6 separate regions of the Homo sapiens genome follow, and regions 1, 3, 4, 5 and 6 are each linked to region 2. Evidence: promoter capture Hi-C in 16 types of primary human blood cells and fetal thymus (Javierre and others, 2016). All regions are on one chromosome and are shown on one strand. The core of a region is centred on a gene start or on the middle of the fragment in contact, and the rest is flanking DNA. Distances in the headings are between cores, read along the strand shown. Region 1 overlaps MMP27 (matrix metallopeptidase 27). Region 2 holds the start of MMP7 (matrix metallopeptidase 7). Region 3 overlaps MMP20-AS1 (MMP20 antisense RNA 1). Region 4 has its middle 4.6 kb from the start of BIRC3. Region 5 holds the start of MMP8 (matrix metallopeptidase 8). Region 6 has its middle 35 kb from the start of BIRC2.

The links. The method cuts DNA at HindIII sites, captures the fragments that hold promoters and counts their contacts. A CHiCAGO score of 5 or more calls a contact.
Region 1: a contact is called between a fragment that was not itself captured here and the fragment with the promoter of MMP7 in region 2, in 2 of 17 cell types (M0 macrophages and M2 macrophages). The highest score is 7.7, in M0 macrophages.
Region 3: a fragment that was not itself captured here is called in contact with the fragment with the promoter of MMP7 in region 2 in 1 of 17 cell types (M0 macrophages); the score reaches 5.1 in M0 macrophages.
Region 4: a contact is called between a fragment that was not itself captured here and the fragment with the promoter of MMP7 in region 2, in 6 of 17 cell types (M1 macrophages, M0 macrophages, M2 macrophages and 3 more). The highest score is 11.6, in M1 macrophages.
Region 5: a contact is called between the fragment with the promoter of MMP8 here and the fragment with the promoter of MMP7 in region 2, in 3 of 17 cell types (M0 macrophages, M1 macrophages and M2 macrophages). The highest score is 10.3, in M0 macrophages.
Region 6: a fragment that was not itself captured here is called in contact with the fragment with the promoter of MMP7 in region 2 in 3 of 17 cell types (M2 macrophages, non-activated CD4 T cells and naive B cells); the score reaches 5.4 in M2 macrophages.

Annotation. Positions count from the first base shown.
Region 1 is chr11:102,698,549-102,703,066 of GRCh38, forward strand. It overlaps MMP27 (matrix metallopeptidase 27), which reads right to left. Exons shown (of 10, transcript NM_022122.3): 3 at 4,422-4,518; 4 at 4,205-4,333. Among named protein-coding and RNA genes, the nearest start is that of MMP27, 5.0 kb to the right of the region's middle. The HindIII fragment of the contact is 8,436 bases long and covers 1-4,518 here.
Region 2 is chr11:102,528,376-102,533,205 of GRCh38, forward strand. MMP7 (matrix metallopeptidase 7) reads right to left here and starts at 2,372. Exons shown (of 6, transcript NM_002423.5): 1 at 2,218-2,372. The coding sequence starts at 2,325. The HindIII fragment of the contact is 6,591 bases long and covers 1,957-4,830 here.
Region 3 is chr11:102,670,733-102,675,556 of GRCh38, forward strand. All of the region lies in intron 1 of MMP20-AS1 (MMP20 antisense RNA 1), which reads left to right. Among named protein-coding and RNA genes, the nearest start is that of MMP20-AS1, 32 kb to the left of the region's middle. The HindIII fragment of the contact is 1,329 bases long and covers 853-2,181 here.
Region 4 is chr11:102,310,366-102,315,347 of GRCh38, forward strand. It overlaps the pseudogene RNU6-952P. Among named protein-coding and RNA genes, the nearest start is that of BIRC3, 4.6 kb to the right of the region's middle. RefSeq lists an enhancer at 1-147. The HindIII fragment of the contact is 1,936 bases long and covers 433-2,368 here.
Region 5 is chr11:102,721,783-102,726,642 of GRCh38, forward strand. It overlaps MMP8 (matrix metallopeptidase 8), which reads right to left and starts at 3,172. Exons shown (of 10, transcript NM_002424.3): 1 at 2,972-3,172; 2 at 647-891. The coding sequence starts at 3,073. RefSeq lists an enhancer at 2,379-3,578. The HindIII fragment of the contact is 5,644 bases long and covers 806-4,860 here.
Region 6 is chr11:102,380,168-102,385,191 of GRCh38, forward strand. No RefSeq gene overlaps it. Among named protein-coding and RNA genes, the nearest start is that of BIRC2, 35 kb to the left of the region's middle. The HindIII fragment of the contact is 6,214 bases long and covers 1-4,538 here.

The DNA of each region.
Region 1 (4,518 bases), core at 1,047-3,546, 170 kb after region 2:
ATTCTTCAGAGGTTCTGTATTGCTATAGGATAAAGTCCAAACACCTTCACATGACCTTCCATGGTCTAGTCCCTGCCTATTTTCAGCCTTATATTTTATTTTCATATTCTGCAAGCTAACTATGTTAAATCGCTGGCATTTTTCATCTGTGTCAGGTTCTTTCTAATCTCTATGTCTTCATACCTTTGTCTCTTTGCTAATAACATATCTCTTCCACTTTCTCCTGGCTTAACTATCCTATTTATTCCCCAGGACTCCCCTCTAAAGTTATTTCCTTCATGTAACTTCCCTTATCCCTCCAGGTCTTATCCAGGTTGAGTTAAATGCATGGCTCCAGCTTCCACAGACTCAGCACTTGATTCTGTCATAGCCCGTAAGGACTGCATTGTTTGTTTCTGTCACCCTGAGTACAGGAACCATGTCTTAATTATCTTTTATTCCTAGTGATTGTGACTGCTTAATAATGATTAATGGATGTCCAAGTGTTGTCTAATGCAAAAATGGTTAGATGTGTTTCCTAAACATGACCATAGTGCCCTTTCCAGAAGTCTTACCAGGCATGTTAGAATTGCCTTTGTCTTTGTCTGCCTCTCCCACTAGTCTGTAAGGCTCTAAGTATAGAAGACCACCCTCTTGGGCCTGGCGTGGTGGTTCACTCTTGTAATCTCAGCACTTTGGGAGACCAAGGTGGGTGGATATCTTGAGCTCAGGAGTTCAAGAGCAGCCTGGGTAACATGGAGAAACCCTGTCTCTACTAAAGAAAAAAAAAATTAGCCAGGCAAGGTGACCTGTGCCTGTAGTCCAAGCTATTTGGGAGGCTGAGGTAGGAGAATTGCTTGAGTCCAATAGGCATAGGTTGTAGTGAGCCGAGATCGCACCACTGCACTCCAGCCTGGGTGACAGAGTGAGACCCGGTCTCAAAAAATAAATAAATAAATACATACATACATACATAAAGTCCATCCCTGGCTTTGCAACTAAGTGCATGGAGCCTAAGGAAAACCTCAGCTTCCCTGATGGAAATTTGCCTAGTGATGTTTGCATGAAGCAAACGTAAAAGGGCAAAGAATTATGTCATGGTCTTTGACACTTTTCTGCTCTTGCCTTTGTTGCTGCCCCTTGCCTGGCTGGCTATATCACTGTGTGTGCTTTTGGACAAGGAACTGGAAAAATGACTGTTGGGAAAAATAATTCAAGCTCAGATTTTCTAAATGAAGTCCAGATCTTTATTCTGGCTTTCAAGACCCTCTGTAATCTGAATCCTATTCGCCATTTTAGCCTTGTCTTCTACAATTCTATTCCTTATGTTGGATTGAGCTATTCTGTTCAGAACACTCCTATTCACCCTCTTCACCCTACTTTGTCTTCTTAGTTCCTGCTGAGCCTCCAGTTCTCAGGCTTGACATAGCTTCCTCTGCTGACCTGTGGGTCTGGGTTGGACTTTCTTCTGTGAGGACCTATTACATTGCCATAGTTTCCTTTATCTCAGTACTGATCCTACTGATTTTAGTTGCCATTTAATTGTCTATGTGTCCCTTAGACAGTGAAGCCCTGGAGGGCAGCTTCTGTGTCCTATATACAAGGGTATATTTCATTTTTATGACAGAGCCTGAGTCATAGTGGATGTTCAATAAATGATCATTGAGTGACTTTATTTACCAATGATTTGTAGAGTATTTCTCATGTGACAACACTGTTATTGGCCATATGACGCTGTAGGTAAAAGATGACAAAAGTCTCTGTCTCATGGAGATGTGACTAAATAGACAAATTTGTGCATTATACATTCATAGCTTTTCAAATATTTTTCCTTATGCCTAGAATGTAATTCCACCCTAGTTATCATTATCATCATCAATACTAACAATTGTCAACAGAATCTTTGATGTCAAGCACTTTCTGAGTGTTCACTATGGACAACTGCTCTGAAAGGGGTTTTCACCTTTATTAACCTAGTTAGGGTAAGGGTAATTTATTTCACCCTCCTAAAAGAAGAGCATCATTACTCTTTTACAGGCAAAGAAATAGAGAGTAAGAAAATTACTTGACTTGCCCCGGGTCCCTCAGCTGGTCAATGGGAAGCCCTGAAAGGAACCAGTGTCTGCCAAACTACAAACCATTGCTTTTTCTCCTTCCCAACACTGCATCTGTAGCAGTCTGTAAGGCCTGTTCAGTTGTTTGGTGCACACGTGTGTGCCACACACACACTCACAATAGGCTTGGCACCTGGCTTTGCTTTGAGAGACTCTCAGGAAAATCTCTGTATGTGCTTAAAGTCCTCTGACATCCCCATGCGATGACCTGTTCTTCCCGGAGGAAGCAGCTTAATAGCATCATTGGCAGATGATGTGTCTGTTGCTCTTAAGCAAGTTACACCAAGATTTTTGCCACCCTTCCATAAAACAGAGCCTCCACATTGCAATGAAAGAGGTGATCATATAGGTTATTGCTGAATTGCCTATTTTTTAAAAATTGCAATTTTGTTGGAGATTACGTTTGCTTGATATTTTATGTTTCCATTGGAGAAGAGGAAGGTATTTTCCCCTTTAATGTCAGTGAACTAAGAGTTATACAATTGGATCACAGAGGGCCCACAATTTCTACTCTGAGGGACTGAAATAAAGTGGTCAGAAGACAATCCTTTTTGGAACTGCTGCCTGGTTGCCCACCCAGAACTTGGTTGAGGACTGTATTTATCTCTTGCCTTGCTCAAGCGAGCCTTACCGATGTGGAACCCAGATACATCGGACTTAAAAAAAAATAACTTACCCCACATGTCCCCCTTGGCAGAGGGCTTAAAGCAGTATGGGTAAGAGGAACTGCTACTTAGCATTGGATTTAAGAGACAAAAGGATAGTGAAATCTTTGATCTCTGCCTCTAGCTATGAAAGTAAAGCCTGGCTGAGCAAGGGGAGTCATTCTGATTTTGGCAAGTGCTAGGATATTTCCTGTAACTGTTTGGTGAAACACACCCGCAGTGTCTTCAGACTAATACCAAAGAAATATTGAAACATGTCTCAGCAGAAGATACACAACAGACATGGTTCATTCCTTTCCTCTCTTGCTTGGGTGACAATGTTATCTTACCTCCTTCAATTTCTTGTCTGCTTGTGATGCTAAGTCATGTGGCAATGGCAGCAGCCAATCCCAGATTTTGCCTGCTGCTGCCTGAACCTCAGCCAGTACTGACTTTCGCCCTTTTCACTGGCACTTGGAAAAACAGTTGCATCACCTGTTCTGACTGAGCAGTGAGTGGCCATGGACCATTTTGTGTGACAGACTTTTAGTTTCACAGAAAGTGCAAAGCTGATCTAGACCGATTATCTGGAGATACATGGTCGGGAATGATCTGTGTCCTTGTATACTATCCATCAGGACCACTACAACCTGTGCTTTCCTGTGACTCTGGAAGCTAGACACCAGACCCAAGGTAACTATTGCCAATGACAGAACAAAAGAATGGGGGACCCAAAAATCTATTGAGCTTGCTCTTTTCTTTGAGGCCTACATTGCTACCTGTTAATATAGTACAGTTTGATATTTTTGTCAGAACAGTAGTAAAACACCTTGAATGCCAGGCAGACCCATTGAGAAAAATAAAATAAACTTACTTGGTTTGAAGAAATAAGTCAAATATAAGGATTAAGGTCTGATTCCTTTGCAGCTGGGCAAGAGTTAGAAGAGGAAGTTCATGCTTTGAATTAGAGCCTCTATGGGCTATGAATCCATATACTGTCCTTTAATTGCTAACTCAAAATTACCACCTCCCTAGAGTCTTCTTTCAATCCTCAAGCAACAGATGACTTCTGCCACTGGTACAACACAAAACATCTTCTGCCTTATATGGCAGGTATGTGGGCTGGCCTTGTGTACCACACAGGATCATGAACCTCTGAAGGCTTACACTTTTCTAGTACAACTTTGGGGTCCATAGGACACCTTGTATAGTTCCGGGCACACAGTGGCCCCTCAGACATTATGGGTGTATGAATGAATGTATAAATAATGAAGACTGCTCTGATCATAGTAGAAGTAGCCACTTTATGAGGGTGTATTGAACACTTCCATCAAGGTCATCTTGGAATATGGAAAATTGTGGGGACATTGGGAACTTTACAGTTAAAAAGCAGCTAGTTACAAAGCTATTCTTTTCAGGGATTCTTTAGAATAATAAGATTTTGTTCATAAAGAAAATTAGACTCACCTGCTCCATCCTTGGTCCAGTTTTCATCCTCATCAAAATGAGTGTCACCACCCAGACCCGGACCAGGAGGAAAGGCATGGCCAAGCACTCCCAAGGGACCATCAAAATAGCGAGGACACCGACCATGGACTGAGATACAATTTATGCGAGGAAAAAAGATCAGCTTCCTCAAATCTCCTGAGATAAAAATAGCTTTGCTCTCTGTTGAAAACCTTACCTCGAGTCCTAAAGGCAATCATGATGTCTGCAATCCCCTTTGAAATCTTGGTGAATTTTAGTGGAGTGACTTTGCTCCACACTTCTAAACCTTCTTG
Region 2 (4,830 bases), core at 1,122-3,621:
TCAACCAGCCCTATCTAAAGTCCAGCTGAGATGCGGTTCCAGCTAAAAGTTAAAGGGTCTTAAAATTTTAGCTCTGGGAAAAGATATTAGGAAATTATTAAATAGTTCAATTTAATAATCCGGTGAAGGAACCAAAGCTTATAGCAACTAAATGATTTATGTGCCCAGGTTCACACCTTAAATTAGTAGCAGAACTGGACTTGACTTTCCTGACTCCTAGGTCCTCTTTTCCCTCTTTCTGCTCATTCCATTCCCAGCCCTTCTTTCTGCTGTTAAATCTCTAGTCAAACCCACTTTGGGAGATTGCAGTATACAGTAGGACTCCCAGGTTTATTCCATGCAAGGTTGGATTCCTGGGAATTTCTCTAAAGTTTCTCAGTATCTGAATATGAGGATAGGAATCCAGCAGCACAAATACAACAACAACAAAAGTGAATGAACTAACAACAATAGCAACCTCACAGGAACATTTTTAAGCACTTACTAGAGCCAGGCACTTACATATTTATTTTATGTAAACCTCATAACCACTCTATGAAACAAGTATGGCATTGTTATCCCTATTTTATACATGAAGAAACACAGCTCAGAGAAGTGAAATAAATTGCACAAGATCACCTTGTGAGTAACTGAAGGAACCAGTATTTGAACTCAAGTGTTCTGACTTCTATACATTAGAAACATGTGTAGGGTTATATGATGCCTGATAATATTGTTGTTAAAATGATTTAAACATTGGCTCACTAATTTGCAGTTTATTTGGAGTAGATGGTAATGGTTACCTGTCTTAGGACCGCCCAGGAATATGCAATTTATGTAAGAAATCTTATTAATATTGTGTCTTTTTTTCCTGTTACCAACAATTGTCTCATTAAATACAACAAATACTTATTGTTCATCCATGACAATTGATAACTGATCCTTTATTTAAAAACAAATAACCCATTTAATCCCTTCTAGAGCTACAGACTTTACCAAGACACCCTCTGGAAGAAATCTCTCTGCTTTGTTGAGATGACTTTTCCTGTTTTTTTGTTAAACCTAGCTAACATCCCTCCAAGTGAAGACTAAGTTTCTGCCAACCTTCACTCTAAGTAAAGAAACTAAACGCAGAGTACTCTTTCTGGAGAATTCATTAGGTGGAACCATATAAAACTACTGTTTTGGAGATTTTAAAAGTTAAATACTAGTAACTTTATGTGGTTCAATCTAACTTATTATAACTGGAACTTTTTAAAAGTCTAAGTTAATGTGAATTAAAAATTGACTTTTCTTATGCTTAAGGCCTAAATTTACAAATAATAGTTATAAGTAATCATCCCATTAGTTAACCAAATAATAATTAGTAGACTGCTTATATTTATTAGACTGCTTATTAAGAAGCATATTGCAAGGAACATGATTTTTGAACCAGAAGCACTTGTCCTTGATTTCTATCTCTACCACTAATAAGTACACTAATCAGTTTAACTTTGGTTTCCTCTTTTTATAGAACTAAGGATTAAATGACACAATGTCTATATAAGTACTTTATAATCTACAATTGTTACATACATGCTAGTTGGTTTTGTTATCACCTCATTTACTTACTAGAATACCCCATGAGGTATAAAACACATAATATTATTTTTTCTACTGGACACATGAGAAAACAAAGTCAGATGTTAATGCCTTGTCTATTGTCATTGACTTGTTGGAGAGTTGTAATTTCTACCCATGTTTTCTGACTTCAGATATCTCCATTACAAACAGTATTGTAAATACACAAACAGTATATTTACAGGTTGTATCTTAAGAGGCAATATTCTGTATACTATAGAAAAAGAATCTCAAGTTATAATAAATAAAAATAAGAACTTAATTTAAACAATGTTTCAGGTATTGTGTTGAATGCTTCACAACACCCTCATTTGGTTGATACCATTCTTATCTCCAACTTCCAAATTGGAAACCTGAAGCTTAGAGAAGTTTGATGACCTTCCTGAGTCTATCTACATAGTGAGTGGAGGGTTGGAACTCAAGCCCGATTTGAGCAGATTCTGAAACCTGCTTTTAATGGCTACTTGATGAAAACATATATTGCTTTTATAATCCGAAGAACCACCCCAAAGAAAATTCCACTGCAATGCTAACATGGGAAGGGAAATAATTGAAAAACACATTTCTTAATGCAGATGGCAAAAGAATGGAACCCTAAGTAAGTGGGCTGTGACATACCTGAGCCTGTTCCCACTGTAGCTCACTCATGCCTCCCGCCTCCTGAGGCAGCGGCAGGGCCAGGCTGCCAGGCAGCAGGCACACAGCACACAGCACGGTGAGTCGCATAGCTGCCGTCCAGAGACAATTGTTCTTGGACCTATGGTTGATTTGGTGTTTTCTGCTAGTGACTGCAGAAATTTATATAGCTTCTCAGCCTCGAATGTGGAAATAGGTGACTCATTTGAGTGTTTTCTTTCTTTTTAGAGTCTACAGAACTTTGAAAGTATGTGTTATTTTTCATTAACTAAAACGAGGAAGTATTACATCGTTATTGGCAGGAAGCACACAATGTATTTGTCTTTCAAAGGATTTTTTTTTCTGTCTGCTGCATAAATTGACTCCATGAGAAACCTCATTTTTTTGCCAAAGTCAAATGACTGCTCTCATAGGTATCATTCAGGACATTATGGTACCATATATTCTTAAAGAATAATATATATTCTTAAATATATATTCTTATTATATGGTACCATGTATTCTTAAATACATGGTACCATATATTCTTAACAATTAAAAGGTTTGGAAAAGTGCACAAAACATGTAAATAATGAAATAATAATTAAGCAAATACTGTAACCGTCACCAAAGTCAAGAAATAGAACATCACCAAAATCCTGTGGTTCTCCATACAGGGGAAAGATGGCAGGAGGCAGATGGAAATGCTGCTGTGTGGCTGGATTAGTGGCCACTCTATATACAACTGTGCTGTGTCCCCTCACCTTCCACGTCCCTTAGCAGAGCAGTGATAATTCCCTTCTTTGGGTCTCCTTTTAATCAGTTTATGTCTTTTCTTAATGGGGAACACTGCCTCTAATTCTTCTTGAATTAAACACAAAAAAATACCAAGCCAACAAAAATCTACAAGCACGGGTTTAACTCTTCATCTGGCTTACTTATTCTGCTTCTCATTTTATAGTAACAGATTCTTCCAAGGCTAGACCTTCAACTTGGAGATCCAATTTTTTTCTTCCAATCACTCTGACTCTGGCTGCTGCCCAGCTACAGGTAGGGCTGCATTGGTCCTTAGTACACAAAATGGTTATTCTACGTATAGCAGTAAGAATCCATTACCTACAGATTCTAGCCCAATGACTCCATTCTTACCAAAAATGAAAGTGAGGCCAAGATGATAATTTAACTTATTATACTTCTCCCAGCTCACACAGATAGTAGCTCAGTGCTTTTTCTATCCCACTGCACTGCCTATTCATTTTGTAATAGGTCTGTCTCTTTTATTATATTATACATTACTTGGGAGAACACCATGGCTTTTGACTCTAATACATCATGGGAAACACTCCAAATATGCTGGAGCTAAAAAATTTAATTAATCACATATCACTTCAATTACATGGTAATTGAGCACTGTGAGCCAGCAAAGGTAAAATTTTCAGATCAGTTAATTAAATTTGCTCTCTTTACAGAGATGTCTTGATTCTGTACGGTCACAGTTTAACTAGAGTAATTGGTATCCTTAGTCAGAGTTTGACATGTGATAAGGTGCACCATAAATATTTGTAGAATAATGAATATTTATGAACTTTACTTGAATAAGCTAAAAATGGAATTATATCACGTTTTTGGTAATATTTGCATTGAATTAAAATCAAAAGGCATTTCCTCAAGTGAATGAGCACACAAGCCACAAATTGGGTGAAAATGAATGCAAAGACACATCCATGGCCAGGCGCGGTGGCTCACGCCTGTAATCCTAGGACTTTGGAAAGCTGAGGCCAGTGGATTGCCTGAGGTCAGGAGTTTGAGACAAGCCTGGGAAACATGGCAAAACCCTGTTTCTAATAAAAATACAACAATTAGCCAAACATGGTGATGCGTGCCTGTAGTCCTAGCTACTCAGGAGGCTGAGGCACGAGAACTGCTTGAACCTCAGAGGCAGAGGTTGCAGTGAGCTGAGATCACTCCACTGCACTCCAGCCTGGGTGACAGAGGGAGACTCTCTCTCTCTCTCAAAAAAAAAAAAAAAAAAAAAAAGACATATCCAATAAAGGACTGTTATCCAAAATATACAAGTATCTTTTAAAACTCAACAATAAAAACACAAACAATCTGATTTTAAAGATGGGCCAAAAACCTTAACAGTCATCTTACCAAAAAAGATATACAGATAGTGAATAAGCATATGAAAATATTCTTCACATCATATGTCATTGGGGAAATGCAAATCAAAACAGTAATGAGATACCACTACTTACCAATTAGAAAGGCCAAAATCCAGAACGCTGACAGTGGCAATTGCAGGATGTTTTAGTGGAAATGAAAAATGGTACAGCCACCTTGGAAGACAGTTTGATGGTTTCTTTCAAAATGAAACATACTTTTACAATATGATTCAGCAATGGTGCTCCTTGGTGTTTACCTAAAGGAGATAAAAATAAATGTTTACACAAAAACATACATATAGATGTTTATAGTAGCTTTATCCATAATTGCCCAAACTTGGAAACAACCAAGATGTCGTTCAGTAGGTGAATGAATACATGTACTGCGGGACATCCAGGCAATGAAATATTATTCAGTGCTAAAAAGAAATGAGCTGTGAAACCATGAATA
Region 3 (4,824 bases), core at 267-2,766, 140 kb after region 2:
CGTGTTCAGTACGATGTTGACTGTGGGTTTGTCATAGATGGCTCTTATTATTTTGAGGTATGTTCCTTCAATGCCTAGTCTGTTAAGGGTTTTTACATGAAAGAGGACGAATTTTGGTTTTGCGTGTTGAACCAATCTTCCATCACAAGAATAAAGCCCTACTTGATTGTGGTGAATTAGCTTTCAGTTTATTAGTATTTTGGATTCAGTTTACTAGTATTTTGTTGAAGATTTTTGCATCTATGTTCATCAGGGATTTTGATCTGAAGTTTTCTTTTTCATTGTGTCTCTGCCAGGTTTTGGTATCAGAATGATATTGGCCTCATAGCATGAGTTAGGGAGGAGTCACCTCTTCAATTTTTTGAAATATTTTTAGTTGGATTGGTACCAGCTCTTCTTTGTACATCTGGTCGAATTTAGCTATGAATTCATGTGCTTTAGGACTTTTTCTGGTTTGTAGGTTTTTTATTACTAATTCAATTTCAGAATTTTTTATTGGTCTATTCAGGATTACAACTTTTTCCCGGTTCAGTCTTGGCAGGTTGCATGTTTTTAGAAATTTATCCATTTCTTCTAGGTTTTCTAGTGTGTGTGCGTAGTGATGTTCATAATAGTTCCTGAGGGTTTTTTGTATTTCTGTGGGGTCAGTGGTAATGTCACCTTTGTCATTTCTCATTGTGTTTATTTGGGCCTTCTCTCTCTCTCTCTTTTTATTAATCTAGCTACTGGTCTATCAATTCCTTTTATTCTTTCAAAAAACCAACTTTTGGTTTCAATGATCTTTTGCATGGATTTTCATATCTCAATTTCATCCACTTCAGCTCGATTTGGGTTATTTCTTTTTTTTCTGCAAGCTTTGGGGTTGCTTTTCTTTTCTTTTTCTAGTTTTTTTAGGTGTGATGTTAGGTTGTTCATTTGATAGCTTTCTAACTTCTTGATGGGCATTTAGTGCTATAAACTTTCCTCTTAACACTTCTTGGCTGTGTCCTAGACATTCTGGTATGTTGTATCTTTGTTCTCAATAGTTTAAAGAATTTATTGATTTCTGCCTTAGTTTCATTGTTTACCCAAAAGTCATTCAGGAGCAGGTTGTTTAATTTCCCTGTGATTGTATGGTTTTGAGTGATCTTCTTAGTATTGATTTCTATTTTTATTGCACTGTGGTCTGAGAACACGGTTAGTATGATTTTGGTTGTTCTGAATTTGTTTGAGAATTGCTTTATGGCTGAGCATGTTGTCAATCTTAGAGTACACGCCATGTGCAGATGAGAATAATGTATATTCTGTTGTTGTTGGGTGGAGTGTTCTATATCTTAGATTACATGCCATGTGCAGATGAGAAGAATGTATGTTCTATTGTCAGTTGGAGTGCTGTATAGCTGCCTGTTAGGGTCCATTTGGTCAAGTGTCAAGTTTAGGTCCCAAATATCTTTGTTAGTTTTCTGCCTTGATGAGCTGTCTAACACTGTCAGTGGGGTGTTGAAGTCTCCTGCTGTTATCGTGTGGTTATCTAAGTCTCTTCATAGGTCTGTAAGAACTTGTATGAATCTGGCTGCCCCAGGGTTGGGTGCATATATATTTAGGACAGCTAAGTCTTCTTGTTGAATTGAACCCTTTATCATTTCATAACGCCCTTCTTTGTCCTTTCTGATCATTGTTGGTTTAAAGTCTGTTTTGTCTGAAATAAGTATAGCAACCCTTGCTCTTTTTTGTTTTCTATTTTCTTGATAGATCGTTTTCCATCCTTTTACTCTGAGCCTATGGGCGCCATTGCAGATGAGATTGGTCTTTTGACAGCAAGCACTTGGGTCTTGCTTCTTTATCCAACTTGCCACTTTATGCCTTTTAAGTGAAATGTTTACACCTTTACATTCACACATATTGATATTGTGAATGTGTTGACACCATTCATAGACCTTTACATTCAAGGTCAATATCGATATCTAAGGATTTAATTCTGTCACTGTGTGTTAGCTGGTTGTTCTGTAGACATGATTGAATAGTTGCTTTATAGTGTGAGTGGGCAATGTACCTAAGTGTGTTTTTGTGGTGGCAGGCCTCAGTCTTTCATTTCCATGCGTAGCACCCTCTTCAGGATCTCTTGTAAGACAAGTCTGGTGATAATGAATTCCCCTGGCATTTGTCAGTCTGAAAAGGACTTTATTTCTCCTTCACTTATGAAGCTTCGTTTGGCTGGATAGGAAATTCTTGGTTGGAATTTCTTTTCTTTTCTTTTTTTAAGGCATAATCTTACTCTGTTGCTCAGGCTGCAGTGCAGTGGTGTGATCTCAGCTCACTGTAGCCTCAACATGCTGGGCTCAAGTGATCCTCCCACATCAGCATCCTGAGTAGCTGGGACTGCAGTACATGCCACACACCTGGCTAATTTTTTATTTTTTGTAGAGATGTGGGTCTGACCTAGTTGCCCAGGCTAGTCCAAAATTTCTGGGCTCAAGTGATCCTCCTGCATTGGCCTCCCAATGTGCTGGGATTACAGCCATAAGCTACAACACCCAGCCTAGAATTTTTTTTCCCTTAAGGATGCTGAATACAGGGCCCTAATCTATTTTGGCTCGTAAGGTCTCTGCTGAAAGGCCTGCTGTTAGTGTGACAGGGTTCCCTTTGTACCTGACTTTCCCTTTCTTTCTAGCTGCCTTTAAGATTTTTTCTTTCATGTTGACCTTGGAGAATCTGACGACTATGTGTCTTGGGAATTGTTGTTCACCATCTAGTGTATCTTGCAGGGGTTCTATGAATTTTCTGAATTTGCCTGTTGACCTCTCTAGCAAGGTTGGGGAAATTTTTGTGGACAACATCCTCAAATATGTTTTCCAAGCTGCTTCCTCTCTCTCCAACTCTTTGAGGAATGCCAATGAGTTGTAGGTTTGGTCTCTTTACATAATCCCATATTTCTCAGAGGTTTTGTTCATGTTTAAATTTTTTAAAAAATTGTTGTCTGCCTGTGTTGGTTTGAAGGAGCAGTCTTTGAGCTCTGAGACTCTTTCCTCAGCTTCGTCTATTCTGTTATTAATGCTTCTGATTTCATTATGAAATTCCTGTAGTGAATTTTTCATTTCTAGAGGTTTAGTTTGATGCTTTGTTAAAATTGATATGTCATCTTTCAACTCTTGGATTGTTTTACTGGTTTTCTTGATTGGGTTTCAATCTTCTCCTATATCTTTTTGAGCTTCTTTGTCATCCAGATTCTGAATTTTATGTCTGTCATTTTAGCCACTTTAATCTGGTAAGAACTATTGCTGGGGAGCTAGTGTGGTTGTCTGAGGGTAAGAAGACACCCTGACTTTTAGAGTTGCCAGAATTCTTGTGCCGGTTGTTTTTCATCTGTGTGGGCTGATGTTCCTTTAATCTTTGAATTTGTTATCCTTTGAATGGGCCTTTTTGCTTTTATATTTTTTGATGCCCTGAAAAGTTTAACTGTGGTATAAGTTGGGTGTAGTTGACTGGCTTCATTTCTGGATGCTTTCAGGAGGCCAGGGCTCAGCTCAGCACTCCTGAGCTTCATGCTCCAACTATGGGGTGCTGGGACCAGGTCTGCAGCTTTGTTTTTGGCCCCTCAAGGTCAAGCACCTGCTATGCTTGAGGTGCCAAGGTGTTCCCAATTTGCTAGAAGCAAATTGGGAACCCCCCAATGGCGGCTGCCAGAAAAGCACTCTAGCAGGGTCTCCTGAAGACAGCAGAAACTTGATTGGTGAATTCCCATCCACTCTGCCATTCGATGTCTTTTAAGTAGAGAATTTAGGTCATTCATATTCAACGTTAGTATTGAGATTTGAGGCACTATTCTATTCATCATGCTATCTGTTGCCTGAATACCTTGTGTTTTTCTCACTGTATTATTGATATACAGATCCTGTGAAATTGATGCTTTAAGGAGGTTCTGTTTTGGCATATTTCAAGGATCTGTTTCAAGATTTGAGCTCCTTTTAGCAGTTCTTGTAGTGCTGGCTTGGTAGTGGCAAATTCTGTCATCATTTGTTTGTCTGGAAAAGACTGTATCTTTCATTTATAAAACTTTGTTTCACTGGATACAAAATTCTTGGCCGATAATTGTTTTGTTTCAGGAGGCTAACAATAGGACCTCAATCCCTTCTAGCTTGTAGGATTTCTGCTGAGAAATTTGCTGTTAATCTGATAGGTTTTCCTTTATAGGTTACCTGATACTTTTGCCTCATAGCTCTTAAGATTCTTTTCTTTGTCTTCACTTTAAATAACTTGATGACTATGTGCCTAGGCAATGGTCTTTTTGTCATAAATGTCTCAGGTGTTCTTTGAGCTTCTTGTATTTGGATGTCTAGATCTCTAGCAAGGCTGGGGAAATTTTCCTTGATTATACCCTCAAATATGTTTTCCAAACTTTTAGATTTCTCTTCTTCCTTGGGAACACCAATTATTCTTAGGTTTGGGCATTTAACATAGTCCCAAACTTTTTGGAGGCTTTGTTCATTTTTTAAAATTATTTTTAATCCATCTTTGAAGCATTGGGTTAACTCAAAGGCCTTGTCTTTGAGCTCAGAAGTTCTTTCTTTGGCTTGTTAGATTCTATTGCTGAGACTTTCCAATACATCTTACGCTTCTCTAAGCTTGTCCTTGATTTCCAGAAGTTGTGATTGTTTTTTATTTGTGCTGTCTATTTCACTGAAGATTTTTTTCTTTCATATCCTGTGTAATGTTTTTGATTTCTTTAAGTTGAACTTCACTTTTCTCTGGTGCCTCCTTGAATAGCATAATAATTGACCTTCTGAATTCTTTTTCTGGCAATTCAACGATTTCATCTTGATTTGGATCCATGGCTGCTGAGCTGGT
Region 4 (4,982 bases), core at 151-2,650, 220 kb before region 2:
TGAGCAGCAGGGCACTGAAGAAGTGAGCCATTCCGTCTGTCGCAAGCCCTGCGAGGGGGACAAGGGAACTTTTTCCATTTATTTTATTTATGTATTTATTTATTTTTGAGACGGAATCTCGCTCTGTCACCCAGGCTGGGGTGTAGTGGGGCGATCTCAGCTCACTGCAACCTCCACCTCCCGGGTTCAAGCGATTCTTCTGCCTCAGCCTCCCGAGTAGCTGGGACTACAGGCGCACGCCACCACGTCTGGCTAATTTTTGTATTTTTAGTAGAGACGGGGTTTCACCATATTGGCCAGGCTGGTCTCCAACTCCTGACCTCGTGATCCACCTGCCTTGGGCTCCCAAAGTGCTGGGATTACGGGCATGAACCACCGCGCCCAGCCCTTTTTACATTTCAATAGTCCTAAATAGAAAAGTGAATATCACAAAGCTTCTAAAAGAAAATATAGAAGAAAATCTTCATAATCTTGGGATAGGCAAAGCGTTCTTAAACATGATATAAAACACACTGAACTTAAAAATATTATAAGTTGGACTTCATGGAATTAAAATATTCTACTTATCAAAAGAAACTATTAATGAAGCGTAAAGACAAGCTACAAATGGGGAGAAACTGTTCACAGTGCACATGTCAATGACAGGACTCAACCCAGGGTATATAAGGAATTCCCTGAAGTCAATCAATTCAATTTAAAAATTGGAGGAAGATTTGAACAGGCACCTCACAAAATATGATATCTAAAGTGTCGAGAAGCATATGGAAATATAGTCAACATCATTAATCAACAGGGATAGAAAAAAGCATAATGGGATGCCACCACATACCCAAAAGAAGAGCTAAACTTAAAAAGGCTCACAATACTAAGCCTTGGGAAAGATGTGTAGCAACTAGAACTCTTATACACTGCTGGTGAGAGTGTAAAATGGTGCAAAGACTTTGTAAAACTTTCGGCAATTTCTAATAAAAATAAAACATACACCTACCCAATGGCAATTCCGTATCCAGGTATTTAGCCAACAGGAAGAATTCATAGGTTCACCAAAAGAAAAACTAAAATGGGCTGGGCACAATGGCTGGGCACACCTGTAATCCTAGTACTTTGGGAGGCTGAGTTGGGCGGATCACTTGAGCTTGAGCTCAGAAGTTTGAGACCAGCCTGGACAACATAGTGAGACCTCATCTATATTATTAAAGAAAAAAAAATCTAAAATGTTTATAGGTTCTGGGCTGGGCATGGTAGCTCATGCCTGTAATCCTAGCACTTTTGGAGGCCAAGGCGGGCAGGTCACCTGAGCTCAGGACTTTAAGACCAGCCTGGGCAACATGGTGAAACCCCATCTCTACTAAAAGTACAAAAAATTAGCTGGGCATGGTGACTCGAGCCTGTAGTCCCAGCTACCGAGGAGGCTGAGGCACGAGAATCACTTGAACCTGGGAGGTGGAGGTTGCAGTGAGCTGAGATGGCACCACTGCACTCTACCTTGGGCAAAAAAGTGAGACTCTGTCTCAAAAAAAAAAAGTTTATAAGTTCTTTTCACAAGGGATTGAACCAGGCAACAACACAAATGTACATTAGCAGGAAAACAGAAAAAGAAACTATGGTAGGCCAGGCGCGGTGGCTCATGCCTGTAATCCCTGCACTTTGGGAGGCCAAGGCAGGTGGATCACCTGGGGTCAGGAGTTCAAGACTAGCCTGGCCAACATGATGAAACCCCATCTCTATTAAAAATACAAAAAATTAGCTGGGCGTGGTGGTGCACACCTGTAATCCCAGCAACTCAAGAGGCTGAGGCAGGAGAATCGCTTGAACCCGGGAGGTGGAAGTTGCAGTGAGCTGAGATCTCGCCACTGCACTTCAGCCTAGCCAACAAGAGCAAAACTCAGTCTCAAAATAAAAGAAACTATGGTATATTTATACAGTGGAATACTACTATGCAATAAAAAGAACAAATTACTGATACATGTTACAATATTGATGAAACTAAGAAATATGTTGAGTGAAGGAAGCCAGTATGAGTACACATCATATGATTTCATTTGTATGAAGTTCAAGGACAAACAAATGAGATCTAGGGTGATAAATCATAATAGTGATTGTGGGAGGGGGAGGGGTGGTGGGGGCATTATAGCTTGGTACTGACTGCAAAAGAGCATGAAAGAATTTTCTGAGGTAATGGAAGGTGTTCTTGATCTTGATCTGGTTGATAGTTAACTGAGTACATTCATTTGTCAAAATCATAAAGCTATACGCTTTTAATATCTGTGTACTTTACATGATATAAATTATATTTTATTAGAGTACTATCAGTATAAAATAAAGTAAGCCACCATTTATGAGGGGTAAACTTCATTATCTTGACTAAAGCTTTACATTAGAGGAGGTTTCTTTGTAAATTTGATCTTCGTTAGCACTTATTCAAGGCTGGTGTAATTGTATTTTATTTGCAAGATGTTAGAAAGTTATCAACAGACCAGGAAATTGTCAACATTTACAAGGACTCTCAGATTTGCTTTGGAATTAGAACAGTATGTTCCCTGTAAGATTTCACTTTCACTTTCAGTTCTAGATTCCTGGGTTTCTTTATACATAAAAATCTAAAAACTTACAGTGAAAAAGCATTAGGCTACAACTAAAGTTGTTACAACATTATGCGAAATTCCCTCCAGAGAAAAAATATTTTTAATAATAATTCCCCCAAGGGAAAAATACTTTTAAATTGATTATTTGATAATAGGATATTGAGAGCATACCGCTCTCAGGAATTGTCAGAGTTCTGAGCCAGGAATGGGATGAAAAACTCTGTCATTCATACCTTGCTCATACACTGACAGTAGAAAAAAACTGGAAAACCAAGAGGCCAAGTGTGGTGGCTCATGTCTATAATCCCAGCACTTTGGGAGGTCAAGGCAGATAGATGACTTGAGCCCAAGAGGCCAGCCAGGGCAACATCGCAAGGCTCTGTCTCTATAAAAAATACAAAAATTAGCCAAGCATGGTAGCCCGTGACTGTAGTCAGAACTACTCAGGAGGCTGAGATGGGAGGATTGATTGAGCCCAGTAGGTTGAGGTTATAGTGAGCTGAGATTGTGCCACCGCATTTCAGCCTGGGTGACATTTCAGCCTGAGAACAAGGCTCTGTCTCAAAAAAATAAAAATGAGAAAACAACAACAAAAAAACCACAAACAAACCTAGAAAACTGAAGATAGTAATGGCTATACAGTTTGTGTCTAGCTTTCACTTTCCTCAAAGGTTTCCTTGTGTATTTCTGTCGTGAAAAGAGTATTTGGAGCTTGGAATTCACTGGCTTGGAAGAAAATAAGAGTATTTGGAGAGAAAATATATTTAGGCTGTGCTTGCTTTGGCAGCACATATACTAAAATTGGAACCCTACCAAGAAGATTAGCATGCCCCCTGCACAAGGATAACAGCTGGATGTTGAAAGGAAAAGAGGAGTTTTTTTAATAAAGTATGTGAGATATACAAAGAGTTAGAAAGAAAATGCAAGGTAGGTTACACCATTAAAGATGTGGATGCAGGTTTAGAATAGAGAAAGCCCAAGTGGATAGTTTGGATAGATTGGCTCTATTTTTGTTAGTCAGTAAACAAAGGTTTACTGAGCACCTTTGAGCAGACACTCTACTAGTACTAGAATAATGCAGTGAACAAATATATACAGTGCTTGCCCATACACATTTATCTAGGGAAACCATTTTTTTTTTAATTGTGCAAAATGTTGCAAAGCAGACATGTTAATTTGCTTCCAACCTACTAGGCCTGACCCTAGCTCTCATGACCAGTTTGAAAAACGCGAGACTCAGTCAATTCAGGGATTTCTTAAGCCATGGTCTTTATTTATTTTTATTTATTTACTTTTTTGGCAATGGATTCTTGCTCTCTCTCCCAGGCTGGAGTGCAGTAGCGAGATCTCAGCTCACTGTAACCTCTGCCTCCCCGGGTTCAAGCAATTCTCCTGCCTCAGCCTCCCAAGTAGCTGGGATTACAGGCACCTGCCACCATGACCCGCTTATCTTTGTATTTTTAGTAGAAATGGGGTTTTGCCATGTTGACCAGGCTGGTCTCGAACTCCTGACCTCCGGTGATCCACACACCTCAGCCTCCCAAAGTGCTGGGATTACAGGTGTGAGCCAATGTGCCTGGCCAGCCATAGTTTTTAAACTGGGGTAAGTGTGCCCCTGGGTGTTTACAAAGACTTACCAACAGGGAGGTGGGAGCTCAAATAGTTTTAAGGAATTAATAGTCTCACTCTCAACTTCCATATGTAGCTTCTCCCAAAACTGATCTGCTTGAAAACAAGAACTGTGAAGGTTGCCAGGGTTGTTCTGTCTTCTCATCTCCCTTTTCACAATGGTTCTCTGTCTTCCCTTAAAAGACAGGCTCACCTCTCACCTATCATGAGTTTTAAAATCGTATATTTCTCTGGGTGTAGAAACCTCCTGGATGATTTGAAATAATCGATCTGTATTAGTGTTGAGAAAATGAATGACTCTAATATCTGGATATAGGGTTGCCAGGTAAAATACAGAACACCAAACTGAATCTAAATTTCAGATAACTAATGAATAACTTATTAGTATAGCTAGGTGCCAAATATTGCACAATACATTCTTATACTGGAAATGCATTCATTGTTTATATTAAACCAAAATTTAACTAGGTGTTCTCTGTTTTAATTTGCTAACTCTGTCAACTGTATCTGGATACCAAAAGTTCAGTGGTTTCTAAACCACCAATTTCAACAAAATTGAGTTGTCTACTGATAAGTAATTACATATTTTGATTAGAGATCACTAAATGATTTTTGGAATATAAAACATATTTTTTAAATTGTGAAAAAATTGCCATAATAATGTTTCTTCTGGGCCTATCTACTTATCTACTTACTTCTGTGAAATAAGGTTTACAACATTTATGTCTGTAGAAATGAAAAAAGGAACAGAATCTGTGCTGAACCCTA
Region 5 (4,860 bases), core at 1,922-4,421, 190 kb after region 2:
TGAAGAGTTAAATGTTATTTAGAACAGTAGTCCATCAACTGATGAGTTGTTCTGTTTTGAAGTGAGTTGCATCATGGTGTGCTACCACTGGAGAGGATAAGGAGGGAGTGCAGGTCTCAGGGTGGAGGACAGATGTGGGTTCTGAACAAGTTAATACATGTCTTTAAACCTCAGTTTCCTATTCATAAAATGAGGATACTAATATAGTATCCCTCTCATAGGGCTGCCGTGGGGATTAAATACATATAAAGCATTTAGTTCATTACTTGTCAAATAGTAATAATATTCCACAAATATTAGATATTATTATTATTATTAAGATGTATGAAAGGAGGGACTTGACTCTCTCCAGCAATGATTAAGCCTTTGTTGGGTCCTAAAGTAAGTGCTTAGAGAGACAGCCTAACATTGCTGGTAGTCCTCTTTAGATTGTTGGAGAAGGAAGACTAAAACGGGAAGCCTTGGAGTGGAAAGAACCCACGGTATCTCAACATTTTCATTCTCATATTCATTCACTACTCACACTCTTCAAAGGCAGGGATATTTATCTACTTGTTCCTAGTGTATCCCAAGAACAGTGTCTGTCATATAAGAGCCCAGTCCATACTGGATAAATGAGTGTATCCTGAAACCCTAGAGATATCACCTGTAGGTCAAGTTAGTGCGTTCCCACTTGGGGTTTCCTGGGGTTAACATAAAACCACCACTGTCAGGCACTCCACAGCGAGGCTTTTTCATCATGTCCAGAGTTTCCTCATTTGGCTTCCCCGTCACATTCAACCCAAAAAATCGCTGCATTTCTTTAAGCTTTTCAACGATCACATTAGTGCCATTCTTCCTTGTAGACTGATACTGGTTGCTTGGTAATTGGTAGAACTTTTCCAGGTAGTCCTGGACAAAGACAAGCACATAGGGGTCTTGCTGTGAAAGGACCTCCAGTTCTCTGGTCATTTTGCAACCCTTTCTAAGTTACTACAGAGGTCTGATAACTTGACAGCCACAGGAACAATAACACAAATTAATTTGTAGGTTGGCTTTGAGAGAACAACTCTTTTTAGAAAGAACAGTTCCTCCACTCAGTGCTCCAGTTAATGGTTATGCATAAAAAAGGGTGTCTCATAAGGGATGAGGATCACATCACACAGGCAAAGTGCTACTCTACAGTCAGGAGACTGTCTTCTTGTTTTTACAAAAAAATTAGGACTAACATTAATTGACTTCTCTTGAGGTATTTGTTGCATCAGTGCAGTTCCTCTTTTTTATCCTCTTCACTACTGTAGAAAAGGCTTATTTATTCTGCTGAACAAACAGAAGCACAGAGAATTAAGGAATTTTCCAAGTGATGATTCAGATTTTAACTCACCATGTTGCCTCTCAAATGAGAACTGATAATTTCAAAATAATTTCAAATATCTTTTAGGGGAACAGCAATATCATTGATATTAGCATTTTATTCACCAAAGTAACTCTTTGGAAGTGTTAAATTTAGTCAAAATCCAAAGAGTTTAGCCTAAAAATTACCTATTTTAAGTTTGGCTTAAAAGTTTCTTCATACACAGTGAAATGTAACCTAACTAGACCTCATGCTGCCTGTGAACACCTGGCACCTTGTCAGTGTCTTAGTCCATTTTCTGTTGCTATAACAGAATATCTGAAGCTGGGTAACTTATACATAAAAGGGGCTGATTTTCTCTCACAATTCTGGAGGCTGGGAAGTCCAAGATCAGGTGGCTGCATCTGGTTGGCTTCTGAGATGGCCTTGTGCTGTGTCATAACATGGCAGAGAAACAAAAGGGGAGCAAGCATGTGTGAAAAGGGGCAAAACACAAAGGGCAGCCCCTCTTTATAATACCCATTCTATTAATTACTAATCCAGTTCTGCAAGAGCCAGAACCCACTCCAGCAAAAATTAATCCAGTCACACAAGAGTGTCATTAATCTTTCTTAATGACCTAAGTACTTCTTAAAGGACCCACTGTCACATGGGCTACTAAATCTTTAACACATAAATTCAAGGGACACACTCTAACCACAGCAGTAGGTGACACTGACCAGATCACACGCTTTGGAATCAGACAGGCCTGGGTTCAAATCTTAACTCTGCCATGAATTAACTGTGAGCACTTGGCCACATTATTTATCTGATTTAAGATATTTTTGTCTCTGAAATGAAAATAATAATGCTCCAATAAGGTTCTTGTGAGGATTAAATGAGATATTTGTGAAATGTGTAGCAGTTGCCTTGCATAGAATAAGCACTCAATGGACTTTACATTAACCCGGGGGTTACAATTAAGAGATAACCTCTTAATAATAATAATGCTTTCTCCAAACTATAATGCTAAGAAAACTGTGCATGAGAGATTTGTGACAGAATTCCCTTGTGTTTCTTAAAAATTTGGGTTCACTTTCAGACTGTGAAACAATGGAAAAAAACTATTGGTTCTGCTTTTATAATGCTTCCAAGAGTTTATAAACAGTCCACAATCTGATGCTGGGAAATATGATTTTACTGTGTACTGATTTCTAGTTCATTGTAATCTACCATCCTCACATTATTTTCTATATCTGGAATTTTTGGCGGCAAAGAAAATGCCTGTATGGAAGCACCAGACATATAGTAACTTGATTGCAGATATCCTGGAAGGAAAAACCTTAGGTAAATGAGAAAGAAAATGATACCATTTTATAAATAAAACCATTTCTTCTACAAAAGTTTCCCAACTAGGGGTAACTCTACAGCAGTATTTTCCCAGCCTTTAAAGAATTCAGCTTGTTTTCATGTCCGGCTTTTAAAAGGCCTAGTCCTTACCAGCTTGGAACCCTCCAAATCACTAAAAGGAGATGTTCAATCTCAAACTAATCACCCAAATAATTTCTTTCAGGCTGTTTTAATTAACAAGAGAAAACAACCCACACTATTTCCTAATAATCAGCAAATCAAACATCACCTAACTGATAGTTCATTTACCTGAACAGTTTTTGTATTTTTCTCTTTAGAAGATACAGGAAAGGCCTTGGAAATCTGCACATGGAGTAAGAGCAGAAATGGAAGCGTCTTCAGGGAGAACATGATCTTCTCTTCAAACTCTACCCCTCCTGGCTTTCTTTCTGTCCCTCTGGGTAGGGCCCTTCCCTGGCGAGCACCCTGACGTTCACAGCATCATGTGTCACTCACAGCTCTCTTGCAGTCCTCTTTAAAGCCATGTCTTAAACAATTGCTGCATCAGGAATATGAAGCAACATAGGTTAATTACACTCTGACAGTTTTGCAATTTTATAATGTGATTTAGTACCCCCAAATGGGGGAGTCTTTCAACAGTCTTTCAAAACTCCAACTTTCTACTCTTTGCTTTTGGATGTTTTAGTTATTTCCTTTTACAAAATTGGTTGAGGAAAAGGAACAAGGGACTAATCCTGAAGTTATGTGGATACATTTTTTGACTATGTAAGATGTTGAGGTTGAATTAACTTATGCAGGGGAATATTTTGAGGTTTGTGGTAGATATCTTGGGACCAAGGAGCCCAACTAGAGAATCTCTGTACTTACCCTCCCTCATTGTATGTGGAGAGAATGAGTGACTGTGTTATTACAAAGCAGGCTTTGTATGGGGCCTAGAGCTGCTTCTGGAGGATGTGGTTTGGTATCAACATATTAGAAAATCCCTAGTCTATAAGTTAGACTTTCCATGGAAAAGATAAAGAGAACAATACTGATGATGATAATAATGAACATTTGCTAAAAAATTATGATTGCCCAGACATTTGTACTGTGTTCCACATATTACCCCAATCCATCTTCACATAGCCTTGGGAGGGAGATGCTATTACTATCTCCATTTTACAGATGAAATCAAATCCAGAGACATTTAGATGACCTGTTTAAGTCACATGTTTCATTTGTGGAGGGGCCAGGATTCAACCCCAGAGGGTATGTTTAGAGAGACTGAGCTGGGAGCTACTATAAGCTCTGCATGGTAGTCTCCCACTTGAGTCTCTGGCTGGGCCATAGTGGAGCAGCAGCTCTAGGCCTTCAACAGCTGGATACTTTGGCTTATATTCACAGGCAGAAGACAAGGGAGAGGGAGAATGAGATGTTGTACATCTTCAAGGAGTAAGACACTGAGAGATTTCCAGACAATATGGCTACATAGGAGACTGTTTGTCAGAGGCCCCTGGGCATGCTTTTCAAATCATGTAACCTGGTCCCACTTATTCTGAGTCCACATGCATGTAGTTTGTTATCATACACAGTCTTTGTGAATACTCATTTACATATATGCATACATATTTGGTAAAGGCAGGTATTCTTGTGTATAAATGCATGTGTCTACATGTATGATACATAGCATGTATTAATATGTAAAGAGTGTATTTGAGATGCTATGATAAGGAGTTCTGATCTTTCCTGAGGTCACTTAGGAACTTTGAAAATGATCCAAAGAAAGGTGTCTTGGGTTAGAACATATCTGGACAGCAGATTAATGTTAATGATGTATATTCCTACATTCATTCAGTAAACATTTCCTGTCATCTACTACATGCCACATGCTGTGATGGGTGCTAGAGTATTGGAGATAAATTAATAGAGGTTTGGATAAAATGCTGTGGGTGTTTGGAGGAAACAGCAGTGGTGTGGAGGGAGTGAAATCAAGGAAGGTTTCATGAGGGAGGTGGAATTTGAACCGGATCATGAAGAGGTAGAATGTAGACATGCAGAGATGTAGCAACCCATTCTTTGTATTAATATAAATGTGACAGCTTCCTGCCAAATTGTTCAAAGATCACGGTCATGTTCATCCTCCTTGAGTTCATGGCTTAATGTGGCTTTCTTTACATTAGGTCTTTGGTGAAAAAATG
Region 6 (5,024 bases), core at 182-2,681, 150 kb before region 2:
GTAGCAACTTATGATTTTTATCTATTTATAAAAGAGTTACCTTATTTGGCTTTATTCAGCTAGTCAGTTTAAAGACGTCTGTGTTTTTCACATTCAGTAAAAATAATGCAAAAAATATAACTAAACATAGTGTAATTTATACTTTATCTGCTTGCAAACTTCTCAAATGGACCTGGATTTGAGATTAGGGTTTTAGTCTCTTATCTTTTTTGCCCTCTTAATGATGATAATCAGTGTCCTAGCAGGTGCTCATTATGTTGAGCAGACAGATGAATGTCAGATGCTTTGTTAGGTTTTTTATTGCCTTCCATAATCCTTAAAACTGTAGGAAACATGTTATCTCTTTTTTATAATACAAATGTGGAAATTGAGGCCCAGTGAAACCATGTAATTTGCTAGAGATAACAAGTGGTAGAGTGTGAATTGTATACAGTCCAGGTGGAAGTGGCTCCAGAACATTTACATTTTTTTTTTTAAATCTCTTGCTAAACCATACTTCAGTTTTTGTTTGTTTGTTTTTGAGATGGAGTCTCATTCTTGTTGCCCAGGCTGGAGTGCAATGATACAATCTCACCTCACTGCAACCTCCGCCTCCTGGGTACAAGTGATTCTCCTGCCTCAGCCTCCTGAGTAGCTGGGATTACAGGCACCCGTCACCACGCCTGGCTAATATTTTTAGTAGAGACGGGGTTTCACCATGTTGGCCAGACTGGTCTCAAACCCCTGACCTCAGGTGATCCACCCACCTCTGCCTCCCAAAGTGCTGGGATTACAGGTGTGAGCCACCACATCCAGCCCATACTTTAGTTTACTACATTCTTAACTTGTGTTTGGATCTCTTTCTTCCCTGTCTTAACCTAAATGGGAGGAATTGTATGATTATTAGTTAGGCTTCTCCTTTGTTTCCCACATCTTTTCTTAAAAGAGCTCAAGTACCAGAGCTGAATAGTTTGCTCTTCTCAACACTAGCAACCTAAGAGACTCATTGCTTGTTGACTGCCATTCCATAAGTCAAAGGACAACGAATGGTCAGCTTTAAAGACACACCTAAATTTTTTCTAGAGGTGTAACATTTCAATGAGTATCCCCTACTATATGTAAAAGAAACCTATCAGTAGATAGTAGCAGTTCTTTCAACCCTTTTAGGTGCTCTGAAAAAATTAAAAGTAGAACTGAGATGCTGGCGGGACACAGTGGCTCACGCCTGTAATCCCAACACTTCGAGAGGTCGAGGCAGGCTGATCACTTGAGGTCAGGAGTTCAAGACCAGCCTGGCCAATGTGGTGAAACCCCATCTCTACTAAAAATACAAAAATTAGCTGGGCGTGGTGGCGGGCGCCTGTAATCCCAGCTACTCCGGAGGCTGAAGCAGGAGAATTGTTTGAACGTGGGAGGCAACAACAAAACAGAAGTAAGATGCTATTTGCTATTTTCACTGTGCTGACATTTGCAGTGATTGGTGCAGACACAATGGTGGTCAGTGGACCAGCATTTAAGAACCACTGGTGTGTGGTAAAACCATTAGACTGATTAAAAAAACAAAAAATGAATCTAAGAAGCATTGTATTAAGGGAGAATACTTAGTCTTATCTGTTAGGTTTTCTTCAACATAGAAGGAACTCTTTTTTCCCTTGCGCTTATCGTCTTGGTGCTTTTGGGAGAGAAGCATGGATATGCCCAGTAGCTCAATCCCTTCTTTCTTCTTTCTCTTTGGGAGGCAGCTTGTCTGAAGAGAGCATACTCTGTCCTTCTGTGATGTTGGCGTCACAGGGGCCAGTGACTGGTAAAGTTTGTTTCCTTCTAGCATTCATATTAGGAAATCTACACGAAAGCATCATCCTTCAGATCTTTTATCAATGATAAACATGATGTTTTCATTGTCACGTGATGACTCCTTTTATTGGTTCTAAACTTGCCTAAAAGGGATGTTATTTATTGAGCCCCACAAGTCCATAATAGATTCTTTTGCCTACTTGGTCCATTGGGATATGCGTGATTATTCAGGGGAAGAAGATTTAGATAGCTTAGTAGAAATGGAAAGACTATGGTAATAATTGATTATTGTGTTAGGTCCTGTTATCTTTCTGGTATGGTGTCCAGATAGGCTTTAACCATCGAGTCCTTGGAGCTTTTAAGCCTTAGCAGCTCTGATAATGAAAGGTAATAGGTAAAGAGCCCTGAATTTCAAATCCAAAGACTTTGCCTCTAAGTCTAATTCTGCCGTTTAATGAGGTCTTCGGCAAGCCCTTTACAACTGTTTCTGGTCCTCAGCTTTTCTGTGAGGGTGAATTTCTGTCCTGCTTATTCCTCACAGGGCTGTAGTAGGGTCTAATGTAGAGCTGCACATGACTTCTGTGTTCTTCATTAGTGGGCTCTGCTAAAGACGGTGTCATAGGTCTGATTCCCAAGTAGCAAGCATCCTGTTTCATATCAGACCTGGATAGACTGAGTCATAGCATTGTGTTCCAATCAGTTTTTTTTTTTTTGTTTTGTTTTGTTTTAAGGCAGGTAAATACTTTAGAATAGATATTTGTTGTAAAAGTTTCAAACAATCAGTATATAAGGTAAAATGTTTGAATCCCCTTTAATTTCTCCCCACTAGTACTTTCAGTCCCCTCCCTGGTAGTAATCACTGTTAAATTTGGTATGTATTCACTGTGTGGGGGTGTGTATATACACACATGCCTACATACATATGGTTATAGAAATGTTCTTAAGGTTGCTTTTTCACTCAGTAGTAGGTCTTGAATATCTTTATTTTTCCATGACAGCAAGCAAATACCGAATTATTTTTCTGTAAATATAGAAGTCATAATTTCAGCTTCAAAGCTACATGGACACTAAGATATTTTCTCTGTCCTATTTGATAATATAAAATCTCCTTATAGTATTTCTGACAAGTACATGTACAACCTCTGTTTCAGACAGAATTCATTACTTAAAGTATCCATTTTTGAGGCTATTTTGGTTGTTAGAGTAGTTCGTAGTATAGCACAATTCAGGATATTGGAAAATCTTTTACACACACAGGTGAAAAAACAGGATCAGGTCTAGAGATTAGTGATAGGTTTGGCAAAGTAAAGGCACAGAGGTGCAAAAGAGCAAGCATTGTCAGAGAACAGGGAGTTGTCCTATGAATTAAAACATACTACTCTTGTTTTACTGAGGCTTGGAGATATTTTAATCCAAAGTAGGAAATAAGTACCATAAGAGAGGTTCAGATAAAGTGCTATGGGGACTTTTTTTAAAAGAATTTCAGATGAAATAGCATCTCAATTGGGTATTGATTAAATAGGGTTAAAATATGCAAAGTTGGAGAATGGAGTTATAGGGAAGTATTTTCCAGGAAGAGGGAAAAACGAAGAAAGACAAAAATGCCTGAATCATTTTTGCAAAAAGTAGTTGTAGGGTCGATGAAGGTGAATAATGGGAAACAAGGTTGGGAAGATAGGATGGGGACCACGCTTAAGAGGACTACAAATTATGGGTTTTGCTATCTAGACTTCTTTCTTTAGGTAAAGAAGAGCTGTAGGTTTTTAAGCAGAGGAGTTATATGATTTTAGGTATTATTCACAAAGAACAATGTAGTGGCAGAATTGGATTTCCATATAAAAGGGGTTTGGGAAGGCAAGTTGTTTAGGCTTGAAGCCACATTCATAAAGCACCATTAGTATTTTGTTGAAGATTTTTGCATCTGTATTTGTAACGGATATTGGTTTCTAGTTTTTTGTGGTATGTTTGTCTAGATTTGGTATCAGGGTAATACTGGTCTCATAGAATGAGTTAGGAAGTGTTCCTTATCAGCTGATTTTTTTCCTTTTATATACCCTTGGGTGCAGAGAACTGGAGGTTCCTGGAAATTCCATTCCTGATCCCACAGCAGAGAAACAGGATAGAACAACATGTCCTGAGAGACCTTTTGATACATGCCTTCCTCTCAACTTTTTGAAGCAGCAGCACTAGCAGCAGAGAACAAGGAATAGAAGAAAAATAGAAAACGAACAGGTTTGAAGCGTGGTAAAAGTTCTGTGTAAAAGAGGTGGCACTTTACCTGGTTCTTAAAAAATTTTTTTTAAAGTGATTATGATTAATGTTTTAATAGAAAGGGGAAAAGTCTTTGAGTAGCTGGGAGGTGATAAATCTAGATATTTTTGCACAGAAAGGCCATCTTTTCCTGAGATGAGAAGGAAGAGGGTTAGGATGTGAAACAGGAAAAGTTCCCTTGTCCCCCTTGCAGAGCATGCGATGAGGGTGACTCGCTTCTTCAGTGCCCCGCTGCTCAAACCTCTAGGGGAGCATACCAATGGGCAGGCTGTAGGGCTCTGACCCTATGGCAGGGTCTAGGGGTGAATTTTTACAGCTGAAGCCCCAGTGGTCATGTGTTACAGGGTGCTCTTTTAGTTTAGCTGTCCGTAGGTGGCTCGTGTTAGCTCAGACCCCTGCCTTATCTCAAGGACAGAGGGCTTTCTGTATCCCAGGGTTCTTGCCTTGGTGTACCAGAAGAACTGAATCACACATGGGCTTGGAGAATGAGTGTAAGCTTTTGAGTGGAAGTAACTCTCAGCAGATGAGGGAGCCAGAAGGGAGATGGTTTTCCCCTGGAGTCTGGCCGCTCGGCGGTCCGGGCTCTCCTTCAACTGCCCCAGCCAAACTCTCCACCTCATTCCGCTGGTTGATGGCCTGCTGGTGTGCTGGCGTGCTCCCCTCAATGTCCTCTTGACGTCCAGCTGCTTGTGTGTTCCTCTGCTCATGTGCCCCCTCTCGACATCCAGCTGCCTGTTTGTCTGCCTGTGGCGGGATTGATAAGGAATCAGAGAGACCGATGGGGTTGAGGAGGATATTCATTATTTAGATGCATTGGCCTAGTCGGATTAACATCCAAAGGACTGAGCCCTGAACAAAGAGTTAAGTTACCTTTTAAGCATTTCTTGGGGTGGGGGGAGATCTCTTCAGGGGGAAGCATATTACAGAAGCGAGAAACAAAGACAGTTATTTAATTAATTGAGACATGCATTACATCATTT